Linked DNA regions of Homo sapiens: all the other regions are linked to region 4. Evidence: promoter capture Hi-C in 16 types of primary human blood cells and fetal thymus (Javierre and others, 2016). All regions are on one chromosome and are shown on one strand. The core of a region is centred on a gene start or on the middle of the fragment in contact, and the rest is flanking DNA. Distances in the headings are between cores, read along the strand shown.

Region 1 (2,801 bases), core at 260-2,759, 220 kb after region 4:
CTGCTTTTGTCTAAGTCACAGCTTTGTGTTGTATGTTACATATGGTAATGCATTTGAGTTCTTTGCAAACTGTAGTATGCTATATAAGTGTAATGTCATATAAGTTTAAGCTTACTTATGTATATTTTCATAGCTTATTCTTTTAACAGTATATTGTAATTAGAAAACAATGTCTTTTTAGATTAATAATTGTGATGAGAATTAGAATCTATATTTCTTTACTAAATGTCCTTTTTAAAGACAAATTTTAATGCTTTTCTAGGTGAACACTTTTAACAGTGTCATTATAAATAAAATGAACAGAACTCATTATAGTTTTTGGGTTTTATAGGTCTTGTCACCACCAAGTGTTTGTAGTGTTTGTATTATTGATCCCACTTTGTGATCTTTAGGTTACTGGAGTTGGCTATAATCAATTTGGGGAAGTGATTGTTGATGGTGATGTTGTTCATGGATTCTATAACCCAGCTGTTAGCAGAATTGTTGAGGTAAATATTTTTTTTTCCAAGATGGTGACTTTCTTCATAATAACTTAAGACACAGTGATAGGTTCATAGTTTATGTGTATTTTTCTTAGGCGGGCTGTGTGTGCAATGATGCTGTAATTAGAAACAATACTCTAATGGGGAAGCCAACAGAAGGGGCCTTAATTGCTCTTGCAATGAAGGTACGTACCTAAATTTCTCTTCTTTGACATTTGAGACACTGCCCTCACAACAGAATGCAGTGTCATCAATTTCAGTATTACTGGTTTTTAGGTATTGAGTGAAAAAAACTCATACTATTTCATTGTTTTTACTATCTTTTAGGTATCAGTTTTATTCCTATAAATGTAAAGTATAGACTTTTTTCAGTATAACTTTATTGTTCACATGCAAGTTACAAACTAATGAGCAGTCATTGATTTCTTGTGAAGAAATGTTCCTGTCTTCCACAATGTTGAGATCTACATGTGAAATACTTTATAAATGTGTGTAATTGCTGATAAATACTAACTTTTGAATGAATAAAAGGCAACATTCTTTAGTATTTCTATGTAAAGATAATAACACAGTCATGAGAAAATAGCTTTGTTTTCCCAGTCTTTCCTTTCTCTCCTTTGTTAATTTCTCAAAATGATTGTGAAGTTATAATTTGTTTTGGGGAGAAGAAGTCTCAGTTAACTTTTCATCTGTCCCAATCCGTCTCCTTATCCCCTAAGTCCTATATTTGATTCAGTGAGAAACCTAGTAAGTCCAGCCTGTCACTCATAACAAAAATAACTATTCCTACCTTTAAGAGTATTCAGAGAAAATTTTGATACTTGTATAAAGCAAGAGGCTTCTAAATGAGGTTGCTTGAAATGAGAGACAGTACAGAATTACAGGTTATTATAACATATTTAATGAAATAAAATTGATAGTTTTAGAATATATAGTTTCCTTGGCAGAAAAGCACATTTCTGTATCATTTGGTCTCCTTACAACTAAAACAGCATAGTACTCAAAACATGAATCCGTTATCAAGTATTTCCTGTGTTATGCTTATAAAGATATTAGTTTCTTTGAGGGATAAAGAATATGAAACTATCTTTTTATGGGCAGAGACCTCACATTTTAGGTAGGGAATTTATATTGACATTCTTGAGACAAAAGGCAGTCCAAGACAGCAGACACTGAAATCTTAAACACTGAGTCACATATAAGATAAGAACAATGCAAATTCAGAGCTGGGATATGAGGGCTTTGAAGGATAGGAAGGGTTTAGATGAGATAAGCTAGGGAATGAACTAAAGTAGAAGTAGAGAGGAATAAAAGAGCATAGAGTTGGTTGTGGCTAATGAGTTGGCCAAACTGGATGAAATGAAACGTATTTGCACGACCAGGAGGATTTTTATAGACGCTGTATGTGGTGGGTTTCTGGAGAACCTTTAAGGCCAAGAAGAGCCTGAACATGTTTCAGTAGAAAGTAGAAAGCAATACATGGTAGAATTTTGAGTAGTTTAAACATTTTTGATATTTGGAAGATATTTTTTGATATTTTTGATATTTAGATATTTGATATTGATGCAAACGCTATTAGGAGGGAAAACAACAACATGACTGGTAGTATTCAGGATATAAAGTGGCAGAGGGTAAGGGACTAGGATGATAACAGGTGAGCCATTTGAGTCCCTAAGAAGTGAGAGATTTAATCTAAAACTTCTATTGATCATAAAAATACATGCTCAGAATTGGTTGGGTACTTTTATTTATTTATATCCTGCTTCCTTTCAGAATTTGAGTGGGTAGAGGGATTAATACAGTGTGTATGGGAGGTTTAGTCAGCGTACAATCCAGAAAACCTGCCTTAGACTATATCTACATACCTGGGCTTTCATGTTGAAAATGTATGCTGATGTGTAGGGAAGTACAGTATATATAGATGGAGCATTTACTATTTCACTATTAACTGAAAAATAATCCAGCCAACCTAGTTACAAGTGGTGACCCTTGTTCTTTGTTAAAGGAAAAAATAATCACATATAGGTGAGAATTAACTTTCTCTTTGTGCCATATAGATGGGTCTTGATGGACTTCAACAAGACTACATCAGAAAAGCTGAATACCCTTTTAGCTCTGAGCAAAAGTGGATGGCTGTTAAGTGTGTACACCGAACACAGCAGGTATCCATCTGTTTAAAGAATACTTATTTCCTGTTTAGCTTAGATGACTATTTTTTCATTTACTGTCCACCTTTGGGTTTAGTCATTGTACATAATAAAGACTTGTTGCTTTAAAGTACATGTAATTAATAGTACACTCATCTCTTAATTGTTTGTG
Region 2 (2,841 bases), core at 42-2,541, 250 kb after region 4:
TGAAATCACCATAACTTGTAAATATTGTTGGAGAGAGTGACATGGTAGTGAGGCAGAAGTTAAAATCATTGTGAAATGAGGGGCTGTGAACTCCGGAGCAGTGAATGCTTACAGTTAGTGAGTTACAGTCTCATCTGACATTCAGAACTGAGGTTTTATGAAGGGAGAATAGCGGATACCGTGTTCCACCTGTAGGCTCCCCCAGTGGTACTATTTGAGGAGGTTATAGGGATGGTAGTGTTTTGTGGAAACACTAGGTTAGAGCAAAGTACTATTTGAGGAGGTTATAGGGATGGTAGTGTTTTGTGGAAACACTAGGTTAGAGCAAAGTGAAAAAGAGTAAAAAATAGAGGAGATTTGTTGGAACACAGTGAAACGATTTTAGATCAGGAGATGGGGTCAGAAAAAAGGATTAAATATTTATTTTGGAGAGATAAAAATCATATAAGCAATTTAGAAGTACAGTGGAAGAGAGGCTAATGAGTTAACCTGAGTAAAAGGGAATGAGCAGACACTTGACACTGTAAAAAATGGCTCTACAGACACTGAGAAGCAGCTGTTCTTTATTGCTCCTGAAGACAGAACAAAGGGAAAAGGCTATTTTAGTTGTATGCGAGTGTCATAGGAAACAGACGCAAGAGAATTTTTCCTTTTTTTGTCTCTGGAACATTTCAAGAATAAGGCTGTTTTCTTTCCAGAGTTTACACATAATGATATAAATTGGATGACTTGTTTAGATTGTGTATTTCCTGTGGTACCTTTGGTAAAGATTGAAATGACCATGTCAGATTAATGTCTTAACAAACATATGTCATATTGCTTAAGCTTGATCTCAGTGGCAAATTAAATACAGCTTAAATTGATGAGTTTTTCATCATTAGTTATGAATGCATGGGTTATTCTGTAGAAATCTTAATATTGAAGATTTTTAGTGTATCTTGTATTTTAACAGGTTGCAGTATTTTACAGAGCTAGCCCAAGGCACAAGATGAAAATTATTAAGGTGAGTGTGTAAGAATCAGATTGTTTTATTTCTGTATACAAAATGCTGCTACTTTACTTTTGTTATGTTTGCATTACAGGGAGTAGAGCATCAAGGTCAGAAATACTGTGAAGCAAAACAGTTTTTTTTTTTTGTAAGAGCTTGACATAGAAACACTAATAGAGAATTTAGTTGGCATAAGATGTAGAAGAAAACTTGAATGAAGTATCTGCAAATACAGCCTTCTTTAAACAGTTAGACAGTATAAAACAATGTTCTAACTGGGGTCCATAGCCGAGTCATCCCAGCGTAAATAGCAGTAATTAGTTAGAAACTAAATAAATACAGCAAGGAAATAGTGTTGTGACAGTGTGAACAGTGCTTAAAAGGCTATGATTATTTATATTAATTAGTCAAATGTATTTAAACCAACTGATAGAGTATCCAGTAGTTAATGGTCTTAAGTTATGATAGCCAGCCATTGTGTAGTTCAGAGTTTCTCAACCTTGGCACCATTGACATTTTGGACTGGATAATTCCTTGTTGTGAAGGGCTGCCCCATATGTTATTGAATGTTTAGCAGCATTCTTGGCCCCTTCCCACTAGGTGCCAGTAACATCCCCCAAATCCTGATAGTCCAAAACATCTCCACACATTGTCAGATGTCCCTTGGGAGACACAATTGCCCCTGGTTGAGAATCATTGTATAGTTGTTTGAAGAACAGAATTTAGAGATACAGTTCTCACAGATGGGAATATTAGTAGCAACTTTTTCTAAGCTTTATCTTACTGAGATCTCCATTTGTTGAAGTTCATTGAACAATGGGTGGTCTATATTATTTCTAATCTTAATTATGTGAAAAAAATAGGGAGGATTTGTTTATCGCTTTGTATGGAAGCAACATTTTTATCAAAATTCCTTCCTCTCCCCTGTCCTCTGCTCCACTCTAGTCGCTACAGAAGAACGGTTCAGTTGTAGCCATGACAGGAGATGGAGTAAATGATGCAGTTGCTCTGAAGGCTGCAGACATTGGAGTTGCGATGGGCCAGACTGGTACAGATGTTTGCAAAGAGGCAGCAGACATGATCCTAGTGGATGATGATTTTCAAACCATAATGTAAGCTTTGTTTCAGTGAATGCCTATCAGAGAATCTTCCCCTATCCTTTCCTGTCCCCCACCCCTAGAGAATTCAACTGGAAAAGAATTAGTATTTAAACATTAGGTAAACTAAACCACTTTTCTAGGGTAATTATCCTATTTTATGGTATGAAGAAGATGATTTGTGTGGCTGGAACAGGCATAGTAAATGGCAGGACCCTCATTTAAGAAGTATTTGCCAAGTGCCAGCCACATTTCACCTTTTTCTGGGCACTAATATGATGGTATAGTAATGGCCTTTATTTTAGTTAAATTCAGGTAGTTAGAAATATGCATATGTATGGCTCTTTTTTTGGCTTTATAATAAATATTGAAAATTATGAAGTTTACATCCATACCTGTTTTTTATATCAGTAATTTATTCATCTTGCCCTCATTTAATGTTATAATTTATTAAATTTAAATAGCTCTATTTGTGTCAGCCACAGTTTCCAGTTGATTTAAGACTCCAGTGTAATACATGGTGGTGTCAGTTTCACAGTGTTCAGGTGGGGATCATGTGAATCCCATTTATTTATTTATTTATTTTTTTGGTAGCTACCTGTTGGATGACCTGAGTTTAGTGATAAATTCCAATTATATGTTCCAGGCTGCTTTATTACTCTGTTTTGGCCTACAGGGAAACATTTGGGAGCTTAGGACTCACAGTATTTGCCAAGCTTTTGCAAGGATATGAGTTTTTTCTTTCCATTATTATAA
Region 3 (2,700 bases), core at 152-2,651, 190 kb after region 4:
TTGATTTAGGTAGTGAGATGAAGAAAATCTAGTTTTTTATTTGATAATGTTAAGGATAACTGAAGCAGATGGAAACAAAAAGCATAGTAATAGAAATAAAATCCAGCAGTAAACTTTTTTATTTTTTCAATTAAAAAATTGGACCAGAGTTTATAGTTTCATAACACTGTTATGTTTTAATGCCTACTAGAGCTAAGTCTAGATGAAACAAAAAAGTATAGAATTAAAAGGTCGATCTGTGATGTACCATTTGAAGAAAATTCCACAGGTTTCTGTGACTGATTCCCTTAGCCAAATGCTACACTTGTTTGCTGAATTTATCACTTAACCTTATTTTATTTGAGTCTGTTTTGAGGAATTAAAATGGTTCTACTCATTGTTGGCATGACCTCCTCTCCCCTCCCTTTAAAACAATTTCTCATTCCTCCACAAAAGGGGTGTTGTGATCTGAATCAAAGTAATTCAAACAGTAAATAAAACATATGTAAAGTAGCCCCTTTTAAAAATTACTATGAATAATGTGGAGATACTGTCAAGATTTCTATTAATAAGTACAGACAAATAAAAATGTAGGCTTAGTTTTATGTTTATTTAAATATCTGAAACTTCTGTAGATTTTAGAACAGTGTTTCACAATATCAGCAGATTTCCTTTTTAGCTAGAACATGGTTAACAAGAATAGAATTATTCTAGCTTAGAGAAAAATGTAATATTGTTGCATAAGCCTGAAGTTCGTGCTGTTTTGAATCTGAAGCCTATACTTTGAATAACTATGGTTGTTCTTACATCTACGATTTATTACGTGGGTATTTCTTGTCACTATCCCAGCCTCTTAAGGTAATCTCTAACCTAGTTGTTATTAGTTCTGTAGTAACCCAGTGTAGAAAGCCAGTTGGAATCAGATCATTTGCAGTAGGTTTGTGAGCTCCATTAGTAGACTATCAGGGTTCCGCTTTTAGGGGAATCTTCTTGCTTAGACAAATGTTGCCCATGGTCAGGTGGAGCTGGTTAGTCTAGCATAGGTCATGTCAGGCTAACCATTATTCAAGGCAGCTATTCATTCAGCCAAGTGAGTGATATGACCCACTGGACCACTAACTGGACCTTCTTGCGTCTTTAAGAATGTGTCAGATATGTGGAGTGCCCTACTTCAGAAGGATTCCTGCAAATAGTATCACTATGTATGGAAGACCTTAGTACCTTGTTCTCTTTGATCACTAGAAAGCCCATGTTTTCAAAAAACACCACAAAATTGTGATTTTAACATAAGTCAATATGGAATTTTACACAAGATAGTGTTGTTATACACATTAAATGCTATGGCTGAGACTATTAAATATGTTTATGATAGGTACATTTGATAGAAATCTCACAAAAGGATGAAAACTTTATAAAAAGCCTAGTTTCAAATTGCTAGGTCTGATTCTTACACACATGTGACCCATCACCAAATATGCCTGTGAAACCAACAAAATAGTCTATAAACAAGTAAAAATCCTCTCCAAAAAGATCCTATTTACTGTCAGTTGAACTTATCATAATGCTTTAATCAAAAAGCTCTTTATCAAAAATGTATAAAAAATTCTTAATACTTTATCATTATTTGTTATTTGTGCTATATTACTTGTGTCTTAAGAGGGCTTTTTATATTCCTTTTTATATTTATGTCCTGCCTTTTTTCCGTGTGTCTTTGCAATCCCCATTCCCCACACCACTGTACTTCTTCCCAGCCATAAAAATAGCTAATTGTTTTATATAGTCGTAATGAAGTCACCTTACAATAAATTTGAAAAATGACTTTTAGGCATTTATTAGGTTTTAGGTGGTATGTTTAATGATCATTTTGATATAGAGGTATCTTTATAATTGTAGGGAGTAGAGGCTAAGAAACCAGAAGACATAAGTAAAGATTGGGCAGCATCTATGTCATTTATTACTGGGATCTAGGATTGATGGGTATTTTCTAGCATATTACAGAATTTTTGGGTAAACTTCCAAATTCCTTAATATCCTTCATGTGTTTGGGGTGTTGTCTTATGATTTTTACATTTGTAGATTTTCCTTATATTTGTCACTCTAAGATTAAGTAGAGACTGATTGTGTTCTAAGTTATTCTTACATAGCCTTGTGTTTTCTATTTGAAGTTTGTGATGGATAGGACATTTTGACTAGTACTAGCACTGCAGTCATTTCAAAACATTCCCAACCCTTCTACCTCCACTATTTGCCTCTCCCTCTTTTGACCTTAGATTAGAAGATTCTTTTGCTTACTACAGACATGAGGCAAAAATAGCAGTGATGTGTGATGCAAGACTGCTCATGGAAATGTGGACTAAGTAGTATTGTGAGTTGAAGGATGTTTCTGACTGACCCTCAGCTATTTGTTATCTGGATGGAAGAAGGCTAGAAATCACATTGTTAGAACTCCTGAGAATTTTCCTTTTTGGATACACAGGTTGATGGGAACTGGGTCTGTCAGTATAGAGCCAGCCACATCTTACTCCTTGTTTATCCCATGTTTGTTCTAATGGTTTACTTTGTAAACCATTGCTGTTAGCATGGGCTTAAATTCCTAAAGCAGATGTTGTTTACGGTTAATTATCTTTGACTTCTGTGGTCATTAGACACTTAACATAAGATTATCTAAATTTTAAGGCTCAATGACTTAAAACTTTTAATGACTCAAATTATGTACTCTTT
Region 4 (2,700 bases), core at 77-2,576:
CGCATCGCCATTTCCAGGAGCTGAACTATATTTAGATAGGCCTCTTCAACTTTAAGCCAAAAATGTTAGTTTGTGTTATTTTCTCATATTTAAATTTAAAATATTAATGAGCCTTTACTATGTGTTCCGTGCTGTGCTTGGGGCTATGAGAATTACAAAGTTACCATATGACATAGTTCTTGTCCAAGAATCTGTAGTTTCTTGGAAATAAGAAAGAGACACATTAAAAGCTTAAAACTGGCCGGGCGCGGTGGCTCACGCCTGTAATCCCAGCACTTCGGGAGGCCGAGGCGGGAGGATCACGAGGTCAGGAGCTCAAGACGGGGCTGGCCAACATGGTTAAAATCCCGTCTCTACTAAAAATACAAAAATTAGCCGGGCGTGGTAGTGGGTGCCTGTAATCCCAGCTACTCGTGAGGCTGACGCAGAATTGCTTGAACCCAGGACGCAGAGGTTGCAGTGAGTGGAGATCCCGCCACCGCACTCCAGCCTGGGTGACAGAGCGAGACTCCGTCCGTCTCAAAAAATAAAAAAAAAAAAAGAAAAACTGAAAACTGAAAAGGTCAAACTAAGATCTAAAAATTCAGTTAACTCCTGGACACTTCCTGCCTAATTCCAGTGTGCCCTCTCACCCAGCTAAAAGAAGGTGCAAACTTCGCTGGTCTGCAACAAGAAACCTTGCCACAGATGTTAAAGAAAAGCAGACCAAAGTATACACTAGCTAAACGTACCCCAGGGTTCTGCTAACTCAGGTTTTGCAGGAAATAAATGCCACACATATACACACACGACCTTGAGCACACATAAACATTTACCCTAGGCCTCGGGAAAGTGTCAAAATCGTTCAGAGGCTCACAACGAGGTCATAGTAGACTACTTCGGGGACGGGACGGGAAAACGCGTCAGCAGCGGGGAAGTTGTTTCTACGAAGGGTCTTTCTTCATAGACAGGAGATGGGCTGTTGGTGGAGGGGCGCAGAAAAGTCCCGATCTTCAGGAACCCCGGTGGTCCTGGGAGGAGAACTGGGAAAGCTCTCGGGGTCTCAGCAGAGAGAAGAAGCCACGCTAAAGAGTCTCCACAAGTACCCCGGGATTTGACCCCTCCAGCCCCCTAACCTGCCCTGGGGGACATGCGTTCCCGGGCCTCGTCTTCCTCTAGCGCGGATCGCTACACCCGTCCGAGCCCTCCTCGAGGGCCTCACCACCGGGCGGGGGGAGATGGAACCCGGGAGAGAAGTGCAGACCGCCAGTCCCAAGAAAACACTACACTTCAGCTGCTGCAGCCCCAGCAAACGCCGAACTCCCGGGAAAGCAACCGGTCTGACCTCACTTCCTGTCGCCGAGCGGAAGTGACGAAAAAGAGTGAGCCTTGAGGAATTGCCAGGGTAGGAAACCGGTTGCTAGGAAACTAGGGAAGGCGTGGTCTTACTTTGGGCGAGTCTACAGGGAGAAAATGATGCTCTGACAAAGATCTATTCCCCTTCCTGCTCTTCTACCTTTCATTCACGAACGCTGAGGTTTCTGACATCCCCTAGAATCTGCTCAGACACGCCTTCACTCCCAGGACAGCAGAACAGAGTTAAGAGAACTCAAGAATATTTAGGAAAACTAATATATCCCAAGCTGGATTTTTAGAGTTCTGGTGAGATATAACTTACATACCATAAAGTTCACCTGCTTAAAATGTACAAAGCAGTAGTTTTTAATACATCTATCGAGTTGTGCAATCATCCCTATAATCTGATTTTAATTTTTTTTTTTTTTTTTTTTTTTTTTTTTTTTTTTTTTTTTTTTTTTGAGGCTGAGTCTCGTTCTGTCGCCCAGGCTGGAGTGCAGTGGAGCGATCTCGGCTTACTGCAACCTCCACCTCCCGGGTTCAAGCGATTCTCCTGCCTCAGCCTCCCGAGTAGCTGAGACTACAGGCGCCCGCCACCACGCCCGGCTAATTTTTTTGTATTTTTAGTAGAGGCGGGGTTTCACCGTGTTAGCCAGGTTGGTCTCGATCTCCTGACCTCGTGATCCGCCTGCCTCAGCCTCCCAAAGTGTTGGGATTACAGGCGTGAGCCGCCGCGCCCGGCCTTTTTTTTTTTCTTTTGGAGACAGTCTGGCTCTGTCACCCAGGCTGGAATGCAGTGGTGCCATCTCGGCTTACTGCAAACTCCACCTCCCGGGTTCAAGCGATTCTCATGCCTCTGCCTCCAGAGTAGCTGGGACCACAGGCACGTGCCACCACGCCCAGCTAGGTTTTTGTTTTTTTTTTTTTTGAGACGGAGTCTCGCTCTTGTCGCCCAGGCTGGAGTGCAGTGGCGCGATCTCGGCTCACTGCAAGCTCCGCCTCCCGGGTTCACGCCATTCTTCTGCCTCAGCCTCCCGAGTAGCTAGGACTATAGGCGCCCGCCACCGCGCCGGGCTAATTTTTTGTATTTTTTTTTTAGTAGAGACGGGGTTTCGCCGTGGTCTCGATCTCCTGACCTCGTGATCCACCCGGCCTCTCAAAGTGCTGGGATTACAGGCGTGAGCCACCGCGCCCGGCCGCTAGTTTTTGTATTGTTTGTAGAGATGGGGTTTCACCATGTTGGCCAGGATGGTCTGGATCTCCTGACCTCAAGTGATCCGCCGCCTCGACCTCCCAAAGTGCTGGGATTACAGGTATGAGCCACCGCGCCCAGCCTGCCTGATTTTAAACATTTTCATTACCCCA

The links. The method cuts DNA at HindIII sites, captures the fragments that hold promoters and counts their contacts. A CHiCAGO score of 5 or more calls a contact.
Region 1: a contact is called between a fragment that was not itself captured here and the fragment with the promoter of PIK3R4 in region 4, in 1 of 17 cell types (M1 macrophages). The highest score is 6.3, in M1 macrophages.
Region 2: a contact is called between a fragment that was not itself captured here and the fragment with the promoter of PIK3R4 in region 4, in 1 of 17 cell types (erythroblasts). The highest score is 6.2, in erythroblasts.
Region 3: a fragment that was not itself captured here is called in contact with the fragment with the promoter of PIK3R4 in region 4 in 3 of 17 cell types (erythroblasts, M1 macrophages and megakaryocytes); the score reaches 5.6 in erythroblasts.

The regions. Positions count from the first base shown.
Region 1 is chr3:130,966,753-130,969,553 of GRCh38, forward strand. It overlaps ATP2C1 (ATPase secretory pathway Ca2+ transporting 1), which reads left to right. Exons shown (of 28, transcript NM_001378687.1): 15 at 393-488; 16 at 578-667; 17 at 2,540-2,644. Among named protein-coding and RNA genes, the nearest start is that of ASTE1, 59 kb to the right of the region's middle. The HindIII fragment of the contact is 2,803 bases long and covers 109-2,801 here.
Region 2 is chr3:130,991,999-130,994,839 of GRCh38, forward strand. ATP2C1 (ATPase secretory pathway Ca2+ transporting 1) reads left to right here. Exons shown (of 28, transcript NM_001378687.1): 21 at 953-1,003; 22 at 1,934-2,100. Among named protein-coding and RNA genes, the nearest start is that of ASTE1, 33 kb to the right of the region's middle. The HindIII fragment of the contact is 936 bases long and covers 824-1,759 here.
Region 3 is chr3:130,937,654-130,940,353 of GRCh38, forward strand. All of the region lies in intron 6 of ATP2C1 (ATPase secretory pathway Ca2+ transporting 1), which reads left to right. Among named protein-coding and RNA genes, the nearest start is that of ATP2C1, 45 kb to the left of the region's middle. The HindIII fragment of the contact is 2,860 bases long and covers 1-2,700 here.
Region 4 is chr3:130,745,503-130,748,202 of GRCh38, forward strand. It overlaps PIK3R4 (phosphoinositide-3-kinase regulatory subunit 4), which reads right to left and starts at 1,327. Exons shown (of 20, transcript NM_014602.3): 1 at 816-1,327. RefSeq lists an enhancer at 1,008-1,067 and a silencer at 2,302-2,351. The HindIII fragment of the contact is 4,673 bases long and covers 229-2,700 here.